Regions from separate parts of the Homo sapiens genome. Here all the other regions are linked to region 2. The links are contacts of gene promoters, found by promoter capture Hi-C in human tissues and cell types (Jung and others, 2019). All regions are on one chromosome and are shown on one strand. Each heading gives the region's core, a stretch centred on a gene start or on the middle of the fragment in contact. The rest is flanking DNA. Distances are from core to core; before and after follow the strand shown. Region 1 has its middle 53 kb from the start of TTI1. Region 2 holds the start of MANBAL (mannosidase beta like). Region 3 holds the start of LOC124904896 (a long non-coding RNA gene).

Region 1 (4,057 bases), core at 1,066-3,565, 690 kb after region 2:
TCAAGCCTGTAATCCCAGCACTTTGGGAGGCCGAGGCAGGCGGATCACGAGGTCAGGAGATCGAGACCATCCTGGCTAACACGGTGAAACCCCATCTCTATTAGAAATACAAAAAAATTAGCCGGGCATGGTGGCGGGTGCCTGTTGTCCCTGCTACTCGGGAGGCTGAGGCAGGAGAGTGGTATGAACCCGGGAGGTGGAGCTTGCAGTGAGCCGAGACTGCACTACTGCACTCCAGCCTGGGCGACACAGCGAGACTCCCGTCTCAAAAAAAAAAAGAATTTTTCCGTTTTTTAAAAGATTGCGGCCCAGCACGGTGGTTCACACCTGTAATCTCAGCACTCTGGGAGGCTGAAGTGGGCTGATTGCTTGAGTCCAGGAGTTTGAAACCAGCCTGGTTCGCAATACAGCAAAATCCTATCTTTACTAAAAATACAAAAAATTAGCCAGGCATGGGGGTGTGCGCCTGTAAACCCAGATTACTTGGGAGGCTGAGGTGGGAGAATCATCTGAGCCAGAGAGATTGAGGCTGCAGGGAGCTGAGATCATACCACTGTACTCCAGCCTGTGCTACCAGAGTAAGACCCTGTTTCAACAACAACAGCAACAACAACAACAACAACAACAACAACAACAAGATTGTAAGAAAAAAAAAGTCAAAGAAGATGCCACAGAGACCTTTATGTATGGCCTGTAAACCCTAATAGATTCACTCTGGCCCTTTACAGAGAAAGTTGCTGACACCCGTTGTAGATGGACCAAGTTTGGTTTGGGGCTGGGCAAAGCACCGGCTGAGCCAATGAGAGCAAATCCTAGGATTTAGGCTGAGGTGGGAGGATCTCTTGAGCTCGGGAGTTCCAGGTCAGCTTGGGCAACAGTGCAAGACCCCATCTCTAAAAATCCAACCCAATCCTAGGCCTTTGGCTAGAGCTGTTAGGAGGTGCACATTCACTTGGGTGTGTGATGCTGAAGGAACAGGAGCCTGGAGTCAGAGTGAAGCCACCACTGGGGAAAGCAGCATCAGAAGACAGACAGGCTGGGGGAGCTGTGCCTGCGGGGCCTCTTCGTTCTGTGTGCCAAGGTATTTTTTTTTTTGCTCAAGCCAATTTTGAATTGGGTCTCCTGTCACTCCCAACCGAGTTATGATGTGTACAGATACTGGCAGGTATGCCCACAGCTCTTTGGGCATGTGATTTTTCCTGTCTGGAATGCCCATTATTCTGTCTGCTGAAATCTACTTGTCCACTAGGACGTCACCTCCTCCTAGAAGCCTTCTTTGATTCTCTCACCCTACCGTGGTTCTATTTTAGTTTCTGGGTGGTACATGCTGAGACCTAACCATCTACTTCCTCGGCTGTAACCGTCAAGAGGAGTGTGTATTGCAGCCATAACAAAGCCATGGGCAGCGGGGGAAAGATGTTGCTGGAGCCCCAGGCACAGTGTCAGATGCTTTAGAAACACTACCGCATCCATCCCCTCTGATGCAGCTGCCTGAAGAGGCAGTGGCAACAGCTCTAATTCAGAGATGGGAAAATGCAGCTCGGAAGTAAAATGACTTGCCCAAGGTCACACGGTTACAGAGAGGCGGAGTCAGAAATGAAGCCCAGCGCTGAGGAACTCCAAATCATCCATGCTCCTTCCACAACACAGTGCCTTCTGAAGACCACAGCCACCCCCCTCCAGCCATCTCCAAGGATCCCCTGGGTCCAGGTCTATACTTTCCTGCATCCTCCAGGAGCCTTCTACAGCCTGCAGATCACGGCTCAAACATCTCAAGCTGAAATTCAAGGCCTTGCAGTATCTACTTATTCATTCTATACCAACCCCTAACCCCAGCCCAAACAATACTTGAAGTGCTGGTGCGCCCTGAGTGAAATAAGAAACCCCTATTACTCCACAAGTTTTAACAGGGGGAATGGAGTATTTTGCAAAGCTTATGTTAACAAGGACTAGACTGAGTCAGCTGGACAGGTTCAAAATTAAAGTTGCCTGAATATAATCATAACTGGAGATGCACTCTAATGAGATTTTTTTTTTTTTTAAATCAAGTGCAACAATCTGCCTGCAAGAATCTGAAAGCAACTCAAGATAGCTTAACTCTTTGAGGAAGAAGTGGGTTTTCGGAGAGCCATGGTGTATCCTCTTATGCTGATTATCTCCTGGAGAGCTTTCGCAGAGTCCAAGTTTTTATCAGGATGCGTGTGCACATCTTCCTGGCCTCTCAGGACAGCATCGCGGCTTGCCACACCCAGATGCTCTGCGAAGGCAGGCTACTTTAATCTCACCGGGAGAGCTAAGTAATGCTCAGCAAGTCATGCCACCTCCCTGACCTGTTTTCTCATTTGTCAGAATCTGGAGACTGAATTAGCCTATCACTTTGGGTCCCCAGTGGAATTAGGAACAATGCTGTGAATGCTTTTACCATCTCCGTAATTAGAGGCATTTCCCTCCCTTTTTCCAAAGGAAATCATCCCAGAATTTTAAAGCTCAAAGAGAGTTAAGTGATTATCTTGCTCTTTGAGGGGGTTCTTAACTTGGGGTCCTTGCGGGGTCACAGGTGAAGCCTCTGGAATTGTACATGGAATCTTGTGAGGTCAGTGAAGCATCCTCAGCAGATGAGATAGTGCCCACTGCAGTCTTGGAGGATGCAGTGCCCTCCTGGGGGTAACAAGGGAGGAGCGGGAGCAAGTTTCTGGGGAGTGGGTCCCCACAATCCCAACAGATGAAGAGCTCCCCCTCTGGTCCAATCCCTCCACTTTACAGGCTGCAGAACTGAAAAAAGCCCCAAGAGAAGGATTCCCTGAGGGCTCAGGAGCCAGACAGAGCCAGGCTGCCGCCACCGAGACTGGAGCTGGACATAACTCGGCCCTTGCAGGGCGGAGTGGAGAAGGAATTGAGTGGGGCCTCTCCAGAGCTGGCTGGGGACCCTCACACCAATATGTCCCCATGCCAGGCACCCTCTGGGCTTTTTAAGAGTTTGGGGATTATCTATGTCACCGGAATTGTGATCTAGCCGGTGCCTCACCATGCACCTGTGAGGAAGCATTCATCATCCCTGGGATCCTTCAGCATACATGGGAGCCCTGGGGTGGGATGTGCACCTCAATTTACATAATCTGTGTGTTTTAAATTTCTCAGCTAGAAAAAAATCGAGTATTTATCTTGCCTTTTCTTTTCTTTTTTTTTTTCTTTTTGAGACGAAGTATTGCTCTGTCGTCCAGGCTGGAGTGCAATGGCGCGATCTCTGCTCACTGCAACCTCCGCCTTCCCTGGTTCATGCCATTCTCCTCCTCAGCCTCCCGAGTAGCCGGGATTACAGGCAGGTGCCATCTTGCCTTTTCCATACAAACTGTACCGGTAGGTTACCAGATGGTTGATGAAGGGAAGGTTCCCCTTACACAAGGACTCTGGTTAACAGCAAGCCAGCATGGCAGAATTAGAACAGCATTACTCTGCAATCCCTAATGAGTGTGTGGATTCCAGTGAGATCACCATGGTTGCTAATAACACAGTAAGATCAGACTTACATACCTCCTGATGGAAGTACGTAACACCACCTATGGAGGAGAAGTGCCAAAAACAAAGCTAAGAGACTCAATCCTGATCACGACTCTTACTCTGCCTCCCAATGGCCAGGAAACACAGGTGAGAGGAGGGGCCCAAGAAATGACCTCCATAGGGATGCAATCAATAAATCCAGACGGTGGGAAATGCTGTAGGAAAAATGACCGTGTTTCTCCACCAAAAAACTTACAAGGAAAATGAGAGAGAGGTGGAGGGGGAAATCTACACATTAAAAGAGATTTATTTTTTATTTTAGAGATGGAGTTTCGCTCTTGTTGTCCAGGTTGGAGTGCAATGGCGCAATCCTGGCTCACCACAACCTCCATCTCCTGGGTTCAAGTGATTCTCCTGCCTCAGCCTCCTGAGTAGCTGGGATTACAGGCATACACCACCACGCCCAGCTAATTTTGTATTTTTAGTAGAGACGGGGTTTTTCCATGTTGGTCAGGCTGGTCTCGAACTCCTGACCTCAGGTAATCCGCCCACCTCGGCC
Region 2 (4,361 bases), core at 58-2,557:
TTTTATGACTTTATCTTGGAACTCGTGCTCCAAGATTTCCGCAATATCCTATGGGTTATACAGGTCAGTCTTATTCTTGGTGGGAGGTGACTACAGAGGGGTATGGATATCAGGAGCCAAGAATCGTCAGGGTTTATGGTGGAGGCTGGTTATCACACTCTCATCTAGGTTTCTTTTTCTCCTACTACTTGCCCCCCACCCCTTCTTAATCATGGAACACTGTTCTTTGCCTTCAAAAAACTTATCCTGTTATATGATTACACATTCATTTAATTAGTCTGTCTCCCTCCAACGGACTGTAAGCACCACAAGGGCAGAGACTGTATGTGTCTGCTTTAGCACTGTGTCCTCAGTTACAAGGACAAAGCATAGAGTACGCGCTCAGTGAATGCTTTTTGAATGAATTATAATGATTTGCTTCTGTCTGAATTACAAGAGGTGTTTCTGTTTGTCTCCTCTCTGCATTGTAGGCTCCTAGCTCAGGACCTGGCATAAAATTAAGGAAATGAACGTGAGAAACACTTTTGAAATAGTGACAACACATCCAGATGAACATTTTGCAGGACAGCTACACACCCGTTTTAGCTCACCAGCTACCAGTTGTGACTGTGCTCTGCTCTGGGAGATGGCTTAGCTTTGCATAGGACAAAATTCTAATCTAGTTTCGCGCAGTTCTTACGAATTTGTTACAATGAGACGGGCCAAGCTATACAGCCCATTGCGATGAATAAGTAACTTTTTTTTTTTTTTTTTTTTTTTTTTGAGGAAGAGTCTCATTCTGTCGCCCAGGCTGGAGTGCAGTGGCGCGATCTCGGCTCACTGCAACTTCTGCCTCCCGGGATTCAAGAGATTCTCTTGCCTCAGCCTCCCAAGCAGCTGGGATTACAGGCGCCCGCCACCACGCCCGGCTAATTTTTGTATTTTTGGTAGAGACGGGGTTTCACCATGTTGACCAGGCTGGTCTCGAACTCCTGACCTCAAGTGATCCGTCCGCCTCGGCCTCCCAAAGTGCTGGGATTACAGGCGTGAGCCACCGTGCCCAGCCCCGAGAAGTAATTTCTTTTGTTTTCTTTTTAATTAAACAAAAATGTTGCTGAAACGAGCTGAGTGATATAGGAGCTTAAAGAATTGACAAGCTCTAGATTTCATTTCCCCAAACCTCTTTGTCCAGCTCGAACCCACAGAACAGGGACAAAAGTCGACAAAACCCAGCGGTGCCTCACCCAGAAACCTGGCAACGCGGGCGGAACAGAGCCGGTTGGTTGCTCAGTGCGCGTCACTTCCGGGACTCAGGGTCGCAGGGAACTACTTCCGGGGGAGCGGCGCGGCGGCGCGGGAGGTGAGTGCCGCAGCTTTGCGGTGGGGTGGGAACCGAGAGAGAGCCGTCCTCGGTGCGGTGGCCTGGCTTTCCCGGCCGGCCTGTCTCCAGCGGCGCCGCTTGGTGGGCCCGGCTGTCGCTCCGCTCAGGGCCTGAATACGTTCCCTCGGCGGTTGTTCGAAAGTTACTTCCGGAGGGGAATTTGAGCCCCCCGGGAGGCGGAGGGCCTCGCCTGGGGCAGCCCTGCGCTTTCGTGCGGAGGCTGGGCCAGAACCCAGGGCTCCTCATGGCCTGGTCCGGGCCTTTCCTCCCACGGGTGGAGCAGTAGGAGAACCCTGAGCTCCAGAGTGAATCTGGCCAGGGTTCGAATCCGTATGGCTCTCTTACCGTGGGCAAGTCACGGTTCCTCTCTGGCCCTCAGTTTCGTCTTCTAAAATGGACATACACGCTTGTACTGCGGGGTAAACCGAGGTGGTGAATGTAAAGCCCTTAGTAGGTGCACAGTCCATGTTTGTTGTACGAATTCTAAGAGAAGCGAGAAATGAATATGAGAAACATTTTTAAAATGGTGACAACACATTTAGATTAATAATTATATTTTGCAGGGCATCTGCACACCAGTTTCAGCCCACCGGCTACCAGTGTGACTTTGCCCAGAGAGGTGGCTTAGCTTTGCATTCTAATCTAGTTTTGCGTGGTTCTTAGGAATTTGTTTTAATGGGACGGGCCAGGCTGTACAACCCATTGCCATAAAGCGGTAACTTCTTTTTCTTTCCTTTTTTTTTTTTTAAAGCCATTCTATTTATTTATTTAGAGACGGAGTCTCTCTCTCGTCCACGCTGAAGGGCAGTGGCGGGATCTTGGCTCACTGCAACCTCCGCTTCTTGGGTTCAAGCGATTCTCCTGCCTCAGCTTTCCGAATAGCTGGGATTACAGACGTGTGCCACCACGCCCGGCTAATTTTTGTATCTTTAGTAAAGACAGGGTTTCACCATGTTGGCCAGGCTGGTCTCAAACTCCCGACCTCAGGTGATCCACCCGCCTCGGCCTCCCAGAGTGTTGGGATTATAGGCGGGAGCCACCACACCCGGCTTTTTTTTCTTTTTAATTAAAAAAAAGTTGAAATAGAGATGGAGTCTCACTATGTTTTCCTGCCTGGTCTTGAACTCCTGGAGGCAAGATATCCTTCCTCCTGGACCTCCCAAAGTGTTTGGGATTACTGGCAAGAGCCACTGTGCCTGGCCTAAAACAGTAACTTCTGACACTGGTTTCTATTCCCCAGTCTGTTTTCAGCTGAATTTTCACAATAGAATTTAAAGTTACTTCATTAGAAGCCAAGAATGGCCTACCAGCACAGTACACAACATTGGGAGATGAAGGCCTGTGGCAGTCGTGAAATCTGAGTTTTTCAGTCTTAAGAGAAGATTTAGTATTTGCTAAGTCTTGAGAGCTATACTTGTCTCAGTGGTTTTTTATTTATTTGTTTTGAAATGTTGACCCATTCTTTTTTTCCCCAATAACCTTTTTGTTTTAGAATAATTTTAGATTTACAAAGTTATCGCAAAGATACTTCAGTGAGTGCCCATATAGCCCACGTTTCCCCTATTACTAATATCTGAAATGTCACAATTACTGAACCAATATTGATACATTATTATTAACTCTAATCTGTACTTTATTCACATTTCCTTAGTTTTTCCCTAATGTCCTTTTTCTGTCCTGGTATTATCCAGGGCACCCTATTACATTTAGTCATCATATCTCTTTAGGCTCATCATCTCTGTGATCGTTTCTCAGACTTCCCTTGTTTTAGATGAACTTGAGGGTTTTGAAGATAGTACTGACTGGTCAGATATTTTGCAGAAGGACCTTTAATTAGGATTTGCCTGTTTTTGACATGAGTAAGATCAGGGTAATGGGTTTTTGGGGAGGAGGACCACTGATAGGGTTCGGCTGTGTCCCCACCCAAATCTCATCTTGAATTGTAGCTCCCATAATCCCCCCATGTTGTGGGAGGGTCCTGGTGGGAGACAATTGAATCATGGGGGTGGGTCTTTCCCATGCTATTCTCCTGATAGTGAATAAGTCTCAGGAGATCTGATGGTTTTATAAAGGGCAGTTCCCCTGCACACACTCTCTTGCCTGCTGTCACATAAGACATGCCCTTGCCTCCCCTTTGCCTTTTGCCGTGATTGTGAGGCCTACCCACCCATGTGGAACCGTGAGTCCGTTAAACCTCTTTTTCTTTATTAATTACCCAGTCTCGGGTATTTCTTCAAAGTGGTATGAAAATGGACTAATCCAACCACAGAAGTAAAGTGCTATTCTCATCACATCATATCAAGGGTACATACTATCGATATGAGTTATCATTGTTGACATCTGTTAGCTTGAGCCACCTGGCTTGAGGTAGTAGTCAGGCTTTTCCAGTGTAGAGTTACTTTTCCTCCTGCACTTTCCGCACTGTACTTTTGGAGAAAGTCATTATGTACAGCACACATTTAAGGAGTGTGGAATTATGCCCCATGCTTAAAGGCAGAGTATATAATGCAAATTATTTGGAGTTCTCTGTGGGAAATTTGTCTGTTCCCCTATTTTTTGCTTACAGAGTCATATATTTGTATCGGTGTGAACTCATGGATTTGTTTTGTTTTGAGACAGGGTCTCCCGCTGTCGCCCAGGCTGGAGTGCAGTGGTGCAGTCTTGGCTCACTGCAACCTCCACCTCCCGGGTTTAAGTGATTCTCCTGCCTCAGCCTCCTGAGTAGCTGGGATTACAGGCACCTACCACCATGGCTGGCTAATTTTTGTATTTTTAGTAGAGAGAGTTTCACCATGTTGGCCAGGCTGGTCTTGAACTCTTGACCTCAGGTGATCCACCTGCCTTGGCCTCCTGATTACAGGAATCCCCTCTCCTGGGATTACAGGCGTGAGCCACCATGCCGGGCCTGAACTCATGGATGTTTATTTTATACTTTGGACCAGAATCCAGTACTACTTTATTTTGTTGCTGAAATTGTTCCTCCATTGGCCATTGGGAGCTC
Region 3 (4,405 bases), core at 579-3,078, 630 kb after region 2:
AAGAAAAAAAAAATGTTAGCTATTTAAATTTTTACTAGGCAGGGCGGCCCCTCCTCCATCGGCCAGAGACAGGCAAGGACCCACCTGGGTGAATGTGCTTGTGTCTAAGGCTCAGCAAGGAGTGGGTTCCACCAGGGAACAGCGGTTGTTGTGGACCTTCTGGGTGCTACACACTGAAACAGGCTCTTCACTTGCATTTGCCCATTTAATCCTCAAAATAAGCCTGTAATCAATGACACAGTGGGAAACCAGAGCTCAGAGTAGTGAAGCAGCTTGCACAATGCCACCCAGCACGCCAGGGAGAGCTGTGGCTTGCATCCTCACCGTAAATCCTGGGCTCCCCCTCGCCCTAGTGCCCGACCGTCCCCCTGGCCCCTTCCCCTGTTAGCCACCACACCAGCACTTCCTGTGGGTAGAGCACAGTCTGAGCTCTGCGGAGCCTGGGGTTGCGGAGAAGGAGGCTTTGGACTGGATGGGACAAGAGGCCGTTGATGGCGTGCGGCCCACGCAGGAGAGTAAACAGCTCTCACCAGGGGCAACATTTCTTTGATGTCTCCTATTTCATTCAAAATTTATGACTTCTATATTCTATCCCATAATATATTCATGTTTGTTTTAATACAAAAATAACGTTCTTGTCCCATGTTTCTGGAGTGAAGTCAATGCCTCAGGAAGTTGCTTTCCTGGTTTGAGCAGCACAGACCATAAAGGGGTCATCCATTCATTTCTTTGTTCATTCATTCTCCAAGTATGCAATTCAGGTATTTTCATTCCTTAAGTGGGTGTTAGTTCTCACTACGGGCAAGGATGCTGTCCCAAGAGCCACACTGGAAGAATCGGCAAGATTGGGATAGGGAAGTGGCAGGGAAGCTTTCCAGGTATGTGGCCCAGCAGGAGCAAGGCTTGGAGGTGGGAACTAGTGATGGGTTGTGAGATTGGGCCATGGCCATCGGAAGCCAGGGCTGGTGCTGGGTGCCCGCTGGTGTCCACACTTGAGCAGGACCTGCGTCCCAAGCCCCTTGTGATTAAGAAGAAAGTCTCTGCTGGTGCTTCTCTGACTTTAACACCTAACCTTCGCCAGTCTCCCTTGTTAATGAGAAAAAAACGGAGATTGAGGCTCATAGCCTTCAGCAGGCAAGCTTCTTTGGCTAGAATTTACGAATGCTGTTTGGTTTTCATAGCGTTTATTTTTACAGTTACCCTCTATTTATGGCAAGTGATGCTGATTTTTCATTTATGGCGGTAATAAAAGTCTTCTTTTAACCTGAATTTATTTAAGTAAAAGGGGAAAGATGCTTTGAAAATAAATATTAAGTAAATAATGGTGCATGTGGTACAGGGACCCTGTGGAAATGGTGATGGCAGCTAAAAGGCTGGGCTTGGGAGACCCCTCTCTGGTATGCCCTTTTCTGTTCTGAGTCCCCTCTGACTGTGCAAACCTCAGTCAGCCTTCAGGTCCAAGCAAGTCCCCTTCTCCTGGTAACCTCCCCTGACTCTCCAGGCAGACACGAGCCTATCTTTCTCCTAGGATCTTCTAGAACCTGCACCTCCTTCCATAGCTCCAACATGCAGTTTGCCCTGCATAACCCTGGGCAGCACTATGATTCATGGCCATATGAACAGTGCACATTCTGAACAACTGTACATGGCAGTCCAGGTTCAATCCCAGCCATTGTTCCTATAGCAGTCTCTGGCATGTGTGTCTCTCCTGGGGACTGCAGGCTCCCTGAGGGCAGGGGCCTGATCTGTGGCATCCTGGGAAGCCTGGCACGGGGCCTGGCTTAGGGTAGGGGGTCCATCAGAGCTGATCTCTTCCATTCCTTTTGAGGGAGGACTTAAGCTCCTACTGCACGCTGAGGCAGACACCTCCCACCAAGGCATGCTGCAGTTCCCTAAGCTTTCTTACAAAATGCCTTCTTCTTGGCTTCTTAGGAAGAAAGCCCATCTGCGTTTGTTTGCCTGTCCCAAGGTGAAGCAACCTTCATGAACTCACACCTCCATTCCTCCTGCCGCAGGCACCTGTCAGGGGCCAAGGGCTACCCAGAAAGAAACAAAGAGAACCCTCGGGTGCCTCCCTGGGGAGGAGAGGGCCCTGGACACAGCCAGGCTTCTCTGTTTCTGGAGGGCTTTTCCATCCTGATTATCTGGGTTTTCTTCTTATGGGGATTTTATGTCTCCTGATTTTAGAAGCCAGCTGAGATTTACAGGCGGTTGGGCTGGGACCTCATTAAATCCTCCCTCTCCAGCCCTTTCCCCGGGAGAGCTCTTACTCTGCTTCCCAGCTGGGAGGCAAGGTGGCCACAGGCCTTCCTGAACCTGGAGCACACACACCCTTGTGGCCTTGCCACCCAGCTGAGCTGGGCATAGAGCAGGCTTCCTGGAAATGGCCCCAGAGAATCACACTTTTTCTAGCTGAAAAGGATGGGGCTTAGATAAGATTTAGGCTTCAGTGGGGGAAATTTTGCAGCCAGCTTGAAGTCAGGCTGAACTCTAACTTGTCCCTTGATGCTGTGTGATCTCAGGCACCGACTCTCCCTCTCTGAGCCTTGGCACTTCCTCTGTGAAATGGGGCTGATAATAGTACCATCTCATCAAGTCTGAGAGGATGAAAGGGGTCCTGTGTACAGTGTCTGGCATAGAGGAGGGGCTTCCTTCCTTCAACCCCGGGGCAGGAGACTGGCTCCAATGGCCCCCAGGTTCTCTGAGCTTTGGTTTTCTCACGCTGCTGGAAAAGGGCCAGGTATGGAAGTGGGCAGTGGCTGCAGAGGCTGTCGATGCCCCCTTACTCTGTCTTCATCACTGCAACAACGGAGCCAGCAGAAACAGGGAAGTGTTTGAATTCTAGAGTCCCAAGGTCTGGGTTTGAATCCCAGCTCCTGCTCCTGACTTGCAGTGTGACCTTGTGACACATGTCCCTGAGCCTCAGTTTCCCTGCCTGGAATAAAGGGACAATGATCCCTGCCCAGCAGGATCACTGTGAGCATCATATGGGATCAGGCACATCACCTTCCTGTTGCATCGTGGGCTCCAATCAGAAAGATGATGCCACGGGGCTGCTGGGCTGGCCCGTAGCCAACAAGGGTTGGGGAGCTACTGGCGAAGCAGCCACCCACTCCTGGCACTGTCAGCCTTTATTTATTGCCCTGTTTCATTCTTGGTTGCGTTTCACAAGATGACTTTATGGGCCATCTCAGGGGGAGCCTCCAGCCTGCCTGTCAGTCTGGCTGGGTGGCCCCTCAGCTGGGCCAGGTGGGCCAGGCTGGCCTTGGGCAGCCAGTGGCCACAAGGGCCAGGAGGAGAGGGACAGTGGGGAGGAGGCCGGCCTGCCAAGCCTCACTTAGGACCTCCCTGCTTATGCATGTCCATAGTGTCCACATGTCTGTCCCTATCCCTGCTCCTGTGGGCACAGTCCCCCCAGGAAACTCCAATCTGGCACATAGTAGGCATCCAATAAATGTTGAGTGAATGAATGAACTGGATGAATGAATGAATGATTTCTATGCCTATTGGTTTTTTCCTTAGAACTTCAATCCTCTGGGCTTTTGTCTGACCTTCCTTTCTCCCTTGATTGATTGATTGATTGATTGATTCATTCATTCATTCATTCACTCATGTGTTTAGTACATGCCTAGCCACCTCCTGTGTGCCTGATCTGGGCTGGGCAATGCAGGGTCCCTGACCTGGGAGAGTTCCCAGCTTGCAGGAGACCCAGACACCTGTCATATAACATCTGTCATATAACACACTCCAGATGTCATATAACACACTCAGCATCTGTCATGTAACACACTCCAGGGCAGGGAGAGGCAGCCTCGGAGACCTCTGGGGGCACCAAGCAGGGCTTCCACCCTAGCCTGAGGAGGGAGAGTACCTTTAGGCAGAGGACTACCTGTGAGTCAGGATTCCAGGGACAGTGTGCAGGCTGTGTCCTTAGGGGGACACATGTAAGTGGCCAGGAGGGGCTGCAGTTGGGGTCTGGGCAGAACCAGAGCCTGCAGACTTTGGATGCCGAGCCTGGGAGCCTGATTTTGACCCTGAGGGCTGGTAGTTTCCCAATGAGGCCCAAGTACGGGAGCTTCCTGAAGGCCCCAGGCAGCCCGGAGTAGGGAAAATGGGATCCTTCCCCTGCCTGCCACCAGAGCTGCTAGAGCAGAGTGTTCCCTGAGCATCTACTATGTGCATGGTGTTGCTCTAGCTGCCGGGACATGGCAGTGAACAGACTAGAATCTCCTGCCTTTAACTAGAATCTCCATCTTCAATTCTAGTTGGAGTACAGATGATACACAGAAATAAAATGAGCAAACATGTAATAGGGGAGTGATGAGTGGTAAGGAGAAATATGAGGTAGAGAAAAGGGAACTGAGAGAGGGTGGGGGAGAAGGGAGGGCCTCACTGAGGAGGTGAC

The links. Contacts are between HindIII fragments. The study calls those that stand out against the background at their distance.
Region 1: a contact is called between a fragment that was not itself captured here and the fragment with the promoter of MANBAL in region 2, in 1 of the 25 tissues and cell types used here (lymphoblastoid cells).
Region 3: a fragment that was not itself captured here is called in contact with the fragment with the promoter of MANBAL in region 2 in 1 of the 25 tissues and cell types used here (dorsolateral prefrontal cortex).

The regions. Positions count from the first base shown.
Region 1 is chr20:37,978,340-37,982,396 of GRCh38, forward strand. No RefSeq gene overlaps it. Among named protein-coding and RNA genes, the nearest start is that of TTI1, 53 kb to the right of the region's middle. The HindIII fragment of the contact is 8,966 bases long and covers 1-4,057 here.
Region 2 is chr20:37,288,348-37,292,708 of GRCh38, forward strand. MANBAL (mannosidase beta like) reads left to right here and starts at 1,308. Exons shown (of 3, transcript NM_001003897.2): 1 at 1,308-1,339. RefSeq lists enhancers at 1,096-1,205, 1,278-2,182, 3,411-3,520. The HindIII fragment of the contact is 10,035 bases long and covers 1-4,361 here.
Region 3 is chr20:37,917,331-37,921,735 of GRCh38, forward strand. All of the region lies in intron 1 of VSTM2L (V-set and transmembrane domain containing 2 like), which reads left to right. LOC124904896 (a long non-coding RNA gene) reads right to left here and starts at 1,662. Exons shown (of 3, transcript XR_007067576.1): 1 at 1-1,662. RefSeq lists an enhancer at 1-398. The HindIII fragment of the contact is 6,050 bases long and covers 1-4,405 here.